4 separate regions of the Homo sapiens genome follow, and regions 1, 2 and 4 are each linked to region 3. The links are contacts of gene promoters, found by promoter capture Hi-C in blood cells and fetal thymus (Javierre and others, 2016). All regions are on one chromosome and are shown on one strand. The core of a region is centred on a gene start or on the middle of the fragment in contact, and the rest is flanking DNA. Distances in the headings are between cores, read along the strand shown.

Region 1 (2,737 bases), core at 204-2,703, 210 kb before region 3:
AGTTTGTGAGAAACGCTCACCTGTCCAAAATCAAATAATGGACTCAGAGACAGGAAGTGCAGCAGAAGCAAGACTTTTAATGGCAATCTTGCAAGATCAGATGTCTGGTAGGCAGGCACACCTGGGGCAGTTACAGCAGGTAATTTATCTCCTAGCATGCAAGTCTTTCCCCCAGTTCCTTACTGGTTGAGTACTACAGGGTTACAATCTTCCCAGACGTCACCTAAGTTTCATTATCCCCTTATAAGGTTATACTCTGGTCCCCTTCCCTGCCTATGTTTCAACTTCCCAATAATGAAACTTTCTCACCTTTTATGGGCTGACCCTTCTTCTACATCTTGTTCTCTTATGATGATTTTCTAGGTGCATGAGCCATTCAGTTTGTCACATCTGCAGGGTGGCTGCTAGTACATAGATTTATCATGCCCTGAAAATGAACCATTTAAATGTTTTTTCACAATGGCATATACCCTAAATGCCCTGACTTGATCATTACATATGCTATGCATATAACAAAATACCACATGCACCCCATAAAAATGTACAAATATTATATATCAATAAAAAATTTAAAAAAAAAGAAAAAGGGAGAAAGATGTTGAATCTACAACCACACTTTACAATCTAAGGAAGTAGAAAAAGAAAAACAAATGGTAGCAGAAAGAAAGAAATGAAGACTAGAGCAGAGATAAATGAAATAAGAAATAGAGAAAACAATAGAGAGAATCAATAAAAACCAAAAGTTGTTTGTTTGAAAAGATCAACAAAAGGCTGGGCTCGATGGCTCACGCCTGTAATCCCAGCACTTTGGGAGGCTGAGGTGGGCGGATCACGAGGTCAAGAGATTGAGACCATCCTAGCCAATATGGTGAAACCCCATCTCCACTAAAAATACAAAAATTAGCTGGGCATGGTGGTGTGTGCCTGTAGTCCCAGCTACTTGGGAGGGTGAGGCAGGAGAATCACTTGAACCCGGGAGGTGGAGGTTGCAGTGAGCCAAGATAGTGCCACTGCACTCCAGCCTGGCGACAGAGAGGGACTCTGTCTCAAAAAAAAAAAAAAATGTTCAACAAAATTAACAAACCTTAGGCCAGATGCAGTGGCTTACATCTGTAATCCCAGCACTTTGGGAGGCCAAGGCAGGCAGATCACCTGAACTCAGGAGTTTGATAACAGCCTGATCAACATGGTGAAACCCTGTCTCTACTAAAAATATAAAAATTAGCTGGGCATGGTGGTGCATGCCTGTAATCTCAGCTACTCAGGAGGCTGAGGCAGGAGAATCACTTGAACCCAGGAGGTGGAGGTTACAGTGAGCTAAGATCGTGCCGTTGACTCCACCCTGGGCAACAAGAGTGAAACTCTATCTAAAAAAATAAAAATAAAAATAAAATAAAATTAGTGGTGGTCCACACCTGTAATCCCAGATACTCAAGAGGCTGAGGTGGGAGGATCGCTTGAGCCTGGCTGGTTGAGGCTGCAGTGAGGTGTGCCACTGCACTACAGCCAGGGTGACAAGAGTGAGACCTTGTCTCAAAAAAAAAAAAGAAAAAAAGGCCAGGCGTGGTGGCTCATGCCTGTAATCCCAGCACTTTGGGAGGCCAAGCCGGGTGGATCACCTGAGGTCAGGAGTTCGAGATCAGCCTGGCCAACATGGTGAAACCCCGTTTCTACTAAAAATACAAAAATTAGCCAGGTGTGGTGGCAGGCGCCTGTAATCCCAGCTACTTGGGAAGCCTGAGGCAGGAGAATCACTTGAACCCAGAGGTGGAGGCTGCACTGAGCTGAGATCACGCGATTGCACTCTAGCCTGGGCAACAAGAGTGAAACTCCGTCTCAAAAAAAAAAAAAAAAAAAAAAGAAATGCCTAGAATAGGCAAATTAATACAGACAGAAAGTGGATGAGAGCTTACCAGGAGCCAGAGGGAAGGTGCAATGGTTAGCTGTTGCCTCACAAGTACAGAATTTCTGTTTGGAGTGATGAAAAAGTTTTGGAACTAGTCAGTAGTGATGGTTGTACATTATGAATGTAATTAATGCCACTTAAGAATGGTTAATGTGCACATGTACCCTAAAACTTAAAATATAATTTAAAAAAACAACAAAAAAAAGAATGGTTAAAAGGGGCCAGGCATGGTGGCTCATGCTTGTAGTCCCAGCACTTTGGGAGGCCGAGGCAAGTGGATTACGAGGTCAGGAGATCGAGACCATCCTGGCTAACATGGTGAAACACCGTCTCTACTAAAAATACAAAAAAAGTTAGCCAGGCGTGGTGGTGGGTGCCTGTAGTCCCAGCTACTAGAGAGGCTGAGGCAGGAGAATGGCGTGAACCTGGGAGGCAGAGGTTGCATTGCGCCGAGATCGTGCCGCTGCACTCCAGCCTGGGCGACAGTGCTAGGCTCCGTCTCAAAAAAAAAAAAAAAAAAAAAAGAATGGTTAAAATGGCAAATTTTATGTTATACATTTTCATCACACAAAACAAAGACACTTTGGCAGCTGTAAAGAAACAAGACTAGCCGGGCACAGTGGCTCACACCTGTAATCCCAGCACTTTGGGAGGCCAAGGCAGGTGGATCACGAGTTCAGGAGATTGAGACCATCCTGGCTAACACGGTGAAACCCCGTCTCTACTAAAAATACAAAAAATTAGCCAGGCGTGGTGGCGGGCGCCTGTAGTCCCAGCTACTCGGGAGGCTGAGGCAGGAGAATGGCGTTAACCCGGGAGGTGGAGCTTGCA
Region 2 (2,777 bases), core at 1-2,500, 180 kb after region 3:
ATTGCTGGGAGCCCACTGGGCCACTGGGCAACTTAGTGGTGTCGTTGCAGACACAGAGCAGATCCGGGAGACCCTGAGGAGAGGACTCGAGATCAACAGCAAACCTGTCCTTCCACCAATCAACCCTCAGCGGCAGAATGGCCTCGCCCACGACCGGGCCCCGTAAGTTCCCCAGTGTCCCTGGGCTGGAACAAGAGGACGACTTTTTTCTGAAGGGCCTGTCCCTGTGGATTGCATGAGAGAGAACAATGCACATAGCCCTTGCTGGATGGGCCCAGGATCTCTAGGCTTAAGGGCAGGCATGGTCTGGGGCACACAGATCTATCTGTGGGTCATAGGAGAGGGCCTCAGAGGGGACCCAGCAGACCGTGAATATTAACATCAGTAAATATTTACATGAGCCGTGTGAACAGACAGGAGGCCAGGTTGGGGAGAAATCTGACTTGGGGCCTCCCAGCCTTGTGGGAGCCCATTGTGCTGAGCACGGTTCCCTCCTTATCTCAGTCTTGGCCAGAGTTGCCCTTCCTTCCTTCCTGGAGCCTGGTCTCCGGCTGATAGCTGCAACCCTGGGGGCCTCCCTCTCTGGCCAGCCCCATACTGGATGCCTGTGGCTGAGGCCCTTCTTCCTGCCTCTCTTCCCTGGGGCCCAGGGAAGGGAAAGGAAGTCTTTTGCAGGCCTCTGCTGCCTGTCCAGGGGCCCCTGTAGCCCTCCGGAGAGACTGTGGCCACCCTAGAGGTCAGATCCGCTTCCTGCCAACCTCTCTTCCTCTGATAGAGGGGATGAGTGATAGGCAGGGCTGAAGCTGGGCACCCCCCTCTGCCCTTAGTCCCAGGGCAGCTCTAGGGAATAGCTGCTGGCAGGAGATACCTGGGGGCTGGCAGCCCAAAGCAGGAACCTTGCCTGCCAGGGAGGAAATTGCTGTGCCTTGGGCTGAAAGGGAGGTTGATCATCCTGCAAGACCAGGGTGATCTAGCCTTCTTCTATGAAGTCTTTATTACACATTTGCTGTCTGACAAGCTCGGACCTAGGGGGCCATCTGGGGTGCACAGGCTCTTCCTTTGGGAGAACATGAGTGAAACAGTTACCTTTTAATGGTGTGCATCTGGCTGTCGATGTGATTTGTTGGAAATGGCTGCTTCTCTGGATTCTAGCTCTAGTTGCTGATCGTGTTTCCCAGAAGTAGTAATGCTTCAGTGCACTACAGAAAAGACAGGTCCACAGGATCTGGGGTAGTTAGGGAGGGCATCTTGGAGGAGGAAGAACATAGCATCGACCTTGAGGGCACCTTAGAATTTTAATAAGCAGGGGAAGGAACTCAAGAGGATAGCACAGGGGAGGCCTGGCTGGTTAAAGTTGAGGCTGCCTGCTGGGACCTGACTGGAACTAGAGTTACTCTGGGAACAGGGCTGTACTGAGAGTTGAGCTCTTTGGCAAAAGCCTGGAGAAGCCTCCACCGCCACCTCAGAGCAGCTTTTAACTCCGGCCTGTAGGTTTCTCCAGCCAGCTGCCCTGAAGTAGCTGGCTGGAGGCATCCTGATCATCCCCTGGCAGCAGCAGATGGCCACACCAGGTCATACGACATATGGAAGCTCTCTACCTGTGAGTCTGGACCCTGTCCCGGGTCTACACTCCTTCCCATTCCCTGAGCTTGGCTTCTCGCTTTGGGCCTCCTTGGCACTGTTGGCAGGCCAGAGGTACTGGAAGGCCTATAACATGGACACAGTCTCAGTCCAGATGGCTCTCTGCCTCTGGAAGCCTGGGGTTTCTAGGCAGAAGGGCACAAGCTCCTGCAGAGATACAACCTTCTTGCCCCGCTTGTGTATCTGGAACAGGCCTGAGATCTCACTCCCTGGCTTGGGGGCACTTCCAGCTACTGCACCCCTGGACATTGCAATGGGGCACAAGGCTCTGTGCTCCTAGATATACACATAAGCCGAGACTCTCAGCCTACACCCTAACTGGGCAGTCGGGTATTGGTTCTGGCCCAAGGGTTCTCTGTAAACATAAGGCAGAGAGGCTGCAGCTTCTACCCTTTGGCTTGAGTTGGCTGAGATACAGAGAGATGGGTGAGAATAGATTCGAGGTGCCGGGGTTGTCTCCCCTTCCTGAAGGTTTAGTGCCCAGTAAGGTCTCTAAAGCACCAGGACCTGTAGTCTGAGGGGAATAGAATGTTTCCTCTGAGGCTGTCAGTATTGGTTACCAATTTGTTAGCAATTGGTTGAGAAATGGTTTCTCCTCCTCCTTTGCCAAGAACATTCTCCAACACACCCCTCAAGCCTGTCAGACTCAAGTTTCCTGTTATCTCAGGATCGATGATGATGGACTCAGTTCAGATCAGTGAGCGTGACGGTAATATCTGTGCTGCCCACTCTGGGACCTGACCCCATTTCACATACACCACATGGATTGCAACTGAGAAAGCTGACCCAAAATGTGCTGGCACCAGTGTTTGCTCCTCTCCCTGTTGGGGGGCAGCCAGCGTGGGCCATATTTTGTCTGCGGGTCTGATTTCCCCTTAGTCAGGACTTCTGGGCCAGGGAGCTCTTATGCATGGGTCTTCGCGGGTTTGTCTGTGGTCTAAGGAAGATACAGAGCTAAATCAGAGGCTCAGAGCAGCTGATCAAGCCTGGGCAATAGCAGCCGGGTGCCGGCCTACTTGGGGGTGTCAAGCACTTGCTCTTTTCACACTTCAGCAGCAGCTAAAACCTTATTAGTGCTCATTCTGTGCTAGGTAATGTGCCAGCTACTATGTGCTGCCATTCATTTATCTTATCCT
Region 3 (2,801 bases), core at 96-2,595:
TAGGGGAAGTTGGTACCCCACCCTCTGGAAAAGGGGTGTCAGCCAGCTGTCACCATCATACAGCCCTGTGACCCCTATAGTCTCTCTTATGGAGGCCCCTCACTCAGGGAAGGGAAACTCAGGCCTCCTGGAAGGAGAGGGAAGAGGAACAGGTGTTATATAGGGATGCTGAAGGGCTGAGAGGCACAGCATGGAAGTGGGGAGAAAAGCCTGAGCAGAGGCTCCTACCCCCAATATATACATACTGAGTGGGAAAGGGACATTCTTCTTTTTTTTTTTTTTTTTTGAGATGGAGTTTCGCCCCTGCTGCCCAGGCTGGAGTGGAATGGCGCTATCTCAGCTCACTGCAACCTCCGCCTCCCAAGTTCAAGTGATTCTCCTGCCTCAGACTCCTGAATAGCTTGGATTACAGGCGCTCAGCACTATGCCTGGCTAATTTTTGTATTTTTAGTAGAGATGGAGTTTCACCATGTTGTCCAGGCTAGTTTCAAACTCCTGACCTCAGGGGATCCACCCACTTTGGCCTCCCAAAGTGTTGGGATTACAGGCGTGAGCCACCGCACCCGGCCAGGGACATTCTTTTCTTCATACAGGTACAGACAGGCACCTACACACACACAAACACACACACACACACACACACACACACACGCACACACATACATAAGGACAAATATGTCAGTACACAGTTAAACACATTCATAGGCAACACCCTCTGGCACACACACAGACACACACACACACACACTGCTCAAAGACACACCCTCATGCACTCTCACAGTCATAACAAGTATGTGTGTAATGAAAAGGCACATGCTTGTTTTACACACACACCATCATCAAACAGGAACACACAAAGAGGTACCCAAATATATACACAAGCTGTCATTCTCCAGTGCACACAGAGGTCCAGGTGTATCAGACACTCACAGAGACCTACTGCTCACAGTCACATACACATACAGATGTACACATACAGATGTACACACTCAAGCAGGGACACACACCGTCCCCTCCCCCCCACCTACTGGGGTCTCTTGAGGGGAATCTGCACCCATATTCCTCTCCTCTCCCTCTCTCCCCAGGGGTAAGACAGATCCCGCCCAGGAGAGACCATAACCAGGTAAAGGGGCCTCTGGTGGCAATGCAGGGGAGGGGCAGAGGTCAGGAGTAGCAACCCTGCCAGGCAGGTTCCGGAAGCTCAACGGGGTCCCAGCGCATACCCGGTGCAGCCCCAACTCAATGCCACCTCAGTACTCACCGCTGCTCGCCCAGAGCTGAGACCGAGGAGAGACAGAGGAGAGGCTGGGCCCAGCTGAGCTGTGAAGGCAGCGCGGCTCCCGTTTGCTCCAGGCCCGCCCGCCTCTCAGTCCCTCCCCCTACCCCCTACGCGCCGCTCAGGCAACGCTAATCCCCCCCACCCCCCGCCCTCTCCCAGGGCCCAGAGCCCCGGAGGCTGCCAGCCCCCCTTGTCGCTAGGTCCCCGCTGGGCTCTCCCGCCAACCTAAGACCCGCCCCAGACAAGGAGGAGGGCGCATGGAACCCCTGGTTCTATTCCCCAGACCCTCACGTGCCCCACCCCACTTGTGTCCACGTCTCTCTCGCCCACCGCCCCTTGAGCCACACGTAAGGCCCGGCTGCACACGCGTGTCCCGCTCCAGACCCCACGCGTGTCCCTAGGAGGCTGCCACATGACCTGTTACATGCCACACGCGCTCCCGCCCCCACGAGCACGCGGCCGCGCCAAGCACACGGTATGGGTGTAGACTGGACCCGCCCCCTAAATCCAGGAGACCATCAACTATGGAAAGGAGATCTAGGGAACACCGTCTTGAACCCGCCAGGGGTTTTGAGTCTCGGACCCAGGAGATCCAACCCTGACCACCCTCCCAGGATGCAGCAGGGGGATGTTAAATCAGACTTCAGGAAGAACTTCCTTGCTGCCTGAGTTAGGTGTCGTCACGCCTGCCCAGGGGTAAGAGGTTAGACGGGATGAACTAGGGACCGGAAGACGTGGGGGACCGGCAACCCTTGTGCCCTTGGCCAGGGTAGAAGGGGGCCCTGCTATTTTAAGAAAGAGCCGCTGGAGTTACTATGGCAACTACTCTCTTTGGGAGGGCCAGGGCGGGCAGATGGTGACCTCGGAAGGAAGAAGGGGTCTGTTCGGGCAGTCAGGGGGCGCGAGGACGTGCGAGGCGGGGGCGCGCGGGGCTCACCGCGGGGAGGGGCGGCGCGGACTCCGCGTGGTGCTGAAGGGGACAGCGCCAGATTTGTCGCACTGCGCAGGCGCAGAGGCGCGAACAAAGAGGGGAGGGGGACGAGGCGCGCGGCCGGAGGTGGTGCGCGCTCACGTGGCTCTATCTTTGCAGGGGTCTGTCCTCCCAGCTACCCCCTCCCTAAGCAGGCTGAGGAAGAAGAGATAGCAAGCCCTCACCTAACTTGACCCCTTTCTTGTCTCTCCCCGCTGCTAGCTTCTCCCTTCTCGCTGCCTTGCGGGGTGGGGAAACGTGGAAGGAATTCTGGGAAAACCAGATGTCTGGGTTCTCTATTCCCGTCTGGCTTGATTCTGGACAAGGGGCTTCCTCTCCAGGGCCTCGGTTTCCCCATCTTTAAAATGGACTGATAGCATAGACCTGCCCACCTTTCAGAGGTGCCCGAAGCCTTGACGAGATAACAGATGAGAAGTGGTTTTCGTTGTGATGAGCCAGCTGAAGCGGTTGCACCGGAGCGCCAGACCGTCAGCGGTGCAGTGGCTCTCGCGTCCTTCACATCCCCCCACACCCATCCCGTGGATGATGGGG
Region 4 (2,739 bases), core at 23-2,522, 230 kb before region 3:
AAAAGGTAAAAAACAAACAAATGAAATCAACCCAATAGTTCCAGAGACTATTGTTTTGGATAAACATAAAAATTTATCTTTCTGGTCTTAAAGCTTGAAACTTATATTTGCTTTATTTGAGTTCCTTCATTAGTAAATGACCTTCAGGCTTCTCCCCCGCAAAAAAAAAGTATCAATGAACTGAAACTCACCAGATCACTACATCCAGACAATGAGACTTTGGACCCCTCATTCATCATGATTACTTCCTTGGCCCTCCCTACTTCCTGTTTTCTTACACATTACATTTCTTCCCCTCTGTATAAAACCCTTGTTTTAGTTGATCAGGGAGATGGATTTGAGGTTTTGAGCTCCCATCTTCTCAGCTGCAGCACCCGATTAAAGCCTTCTTCCTTGGCAATACTTGTCATCTCAGTCATTGGCTTTCTGTGCAGCGAGCTGTAGGACCTAGACTGAACCCCTGATGTTTCAATAACATATTTTGGTTCCCTGACTGGGAACATGTTGCTTGTGGCTCAGCTGCCATGGGTGGAGTCTCAGAAGCCCTCTTATGCAGCTGCCTGACAAATTTTATTTTATTTTATTATTTTATTTTATTTCCTTTGAGATGGAGTCTCACAGTGTCACCCAGGCTGTAGTGCAGTGGCACAATCTTGGCTCACTGCAACCTCTGCCTCCCAGTGCTATAGGAGTCAGAAGAAATCACTTGGGCAGATAGCCAGGGTACGGGAATCCTCAGTAAGGCTTTTCTTTTTCTTTTTTAATGAAAAGCTGCCCCAAATCATTTTCTAACAAAGAGCAGCCTGAAACCTGGGAGTTTGCAAGGGTGAATGCCAGCAGGAACTAAGGAGTAGACATGTTCAAGATAGCGACTTCATCTTCCCTTCTCTGCCAGTCATGTGTACTGTAAGGAGCAGACCAGATGGTGTCGATCACCTCGCCTCTACTAAAAATATAAAAATTAGCTGGGCGTGGTGGTGGGCGCCTATAGTCCCAGCTGCTCAGGCGGCTGAGGCAGGAGAATTGCTTGAACCGGGGAGTCAGAAGTTGCAGCGAGCTGAGATCGCACCATTGCACTCCAGCCTGGATAACGAGAGCAAAACTCTGTCTCAAAAAAAAAAAAAAAAAAAAAGAAAAAGAAAAAAAAAACAGATGGTGTCGATCAACTGGAAAGGCCATTTGCGTAACAAGATTAGGGTGGGGCAACCAGCCTTTCCTGAGCACTATGTAAACGTCATAGCTGATCAAACCAATCTGTGAGCCCTATGTAAATCAAGACACATTAAAACAGTCCACACTAAATCAGACACTGCCTCCTCAAACTGGTGTCTTCACTACCAGCCAGTCCTTTCCATTCGGAGACCTCTTCTTCTATAGAGGAAGCTATTTCTCTTTTCTCTTCTACCTATTAAACCTCTGCTCCTAAACCCCTTGTGTGTGTCTGTGTCCTAAATTTTCCTGGCCTGTGACAATGATAAATATATACCTGAGGGCATATACCCCAGACAATGTAGCCACTTCACCAGGTTCAAGTTATTCTCCTGCCTCAGCCTCCCCAGTAGCTGGACTACAGGCATGCACCATGCCCATCTATTGACCAATATCAGCTGGAAGTGAGTTTCAGTTTCTCTCTGGCCCCACCATGGTCAGCCCCAACCATCCTCCTGATTGCCTTGGAAGAATAGCCTTCGAAATTGGACATCTGCATCCAGATAGGTGAGTATCCTTTGTGGGCCCAGACAGCAGGATTTGCTCCTCTCAATTTGGGAAATTTTTAAAAGAATTTTCATTTGCAGGTTGAACAAGCCCAACTGACTGAGGGAGGGAAACACCCTGACTGTTTTTATGTGGACACTCTTGGGGGCTAGTTTATAATTGTATGTTGTGTCTGGGCAAGTGAGTGCCTCGTGTGTGTACCAGACAGCGGGATCAGTTCCTCTCAATTTGGGAAATTTCCTAAGGAATTTTTGTTTGCATTTGATCAAGCCCAACCAATGAAGAGAGGAAGCACCCTGACTGTTTGAGTTTGGACACTCTTGGGGCTTGTTTTTTGCTGCAGCAGTTGGATTGTGTTTTGGTGATCATTTGTGTGTGTTTTATATAGTCATGAGAAGTTAGAATTCGGTAAACTGATATTCATTTGCAATACTGTTGGCCCCAGTGTTGTTTGGAATCTGGCGTTTGCTGTTTGGAATCTGGAGTTTGCTGCTGAATGGGAAAGTGGGATGGAGTTGTGTGTATCCAGGCTTTTGTGCTGCTGTTCTAAGCAAGGTTGGGCCTGGCAGGTATGTGATGTTCTCCTTTGTTGCTGTTTGACCCCAATGTTCTTTGGAGTCTGAGGAGGTTTGGCCTTTAAAAATCAAACTGCCATGGAAACTACTATACCCAAAATTTTGATTCACAGCCTTCACTGAATTACCTACTGGGACAAAGTGTAACCATGTAAAACCAGTAAGCTTGTATTGCTATCTCATAGCTATAGTTCCAAGGTAAAAGCTATTGGATCTTTGTTTATGTGTGTATATTCATGTTTAGATGTGTTTATTTGTATGTACCCTTATTGGTATATGTTGTGTCTACCAAATTGGCTTATAAGTAAAACAGCACTCATAAATTAAATAAGTCAAAGCAATTTTCAAGTTCGTGTGAGTTAAGTAAATTTTTTCGAAACCAGCTGGCTGTAAAATTATTGGTAAAATGAAAATAAAAATGTCTTCAAAATTGTGAGCATACATTTTT

Evidence for each region. Contacts are between HindIII fragments. The CHiCAGO score rates a contact against its expected background, and 5 or more counts as called.
Region 1: a contact is called between a fragment that was not itself captured here and the fragment with the promoter of PSD in region 3, in 1 of 17 cell types (endothelial precursors). The highest score is 6.0, in endothelial precursors.
Region 2: a contact is called between a fragment that was not itself captured here and the fragment with the promoter of PSD in region 3, in 2 of 17 cell types (megakaryocytes and M1 macrophages). The highest score is 6.0, in megakaryocytes.
Region 4: a contact is called between a fragment that was not itself captured here and the fragment with the promoter of PSD in region 3, in 1 of 17 cell types (endothelial precursors). The highest score is 6.4, in endothelial precursors.

The regions. Positions count from the first base shown.
Region 1 is chr10:102,204,393-102,207,129 of GRCh38, forward strand. No RefSeq gene overlaps it. Among named protein-coding and RNA genes, the nearest start is that of ELOVL3, 21 kb to the right of the region's middle. The HindIII fragment of the contact is 4,323 bases long and covers 1-2,737 here.
Region 2 is chr10:102,599,383-102,602,159 of GRCh38, forward strand. SUFU (SUFU negative regulator of hedgehog signaling) reads left to right here. Exons shown (of 12, transcript NM_016169.4): 8 at 51-162. Among named protein-coding and RNA genes, the nearest start is that of TRIM8-DT, 42 kb to the right of the region's middle. RefSeq lists an enhancer at 370-1,120. The HindIII fragment of the contact is 3,650 bases long and covers 1-2,777 here.
Region 3 is chr10:102,417,440-102,420,240 of GRCh38, forward strand. It overlaps PSD (pleckstrin and Sec7 domain containing), which reads right to left and starts at 1,346. Exons shown (of 17, transcript NM_002779.5): 1 at 1,262-1,346. The HindIII fragment of the contact is 10,611 bases long and covers 1-2,801 here.
Region 4 is chr10:102,185,096-102,187,834 of GRCh38, forward strand. No RefSeq gene overlaps it. Among named protein-coding and RNA genes, the nearest start is that of NOLC1, 34 kb to the left of the region's middle. The HindIII fragment of the contact is 2,363 bases long and covers 92-2,454 here.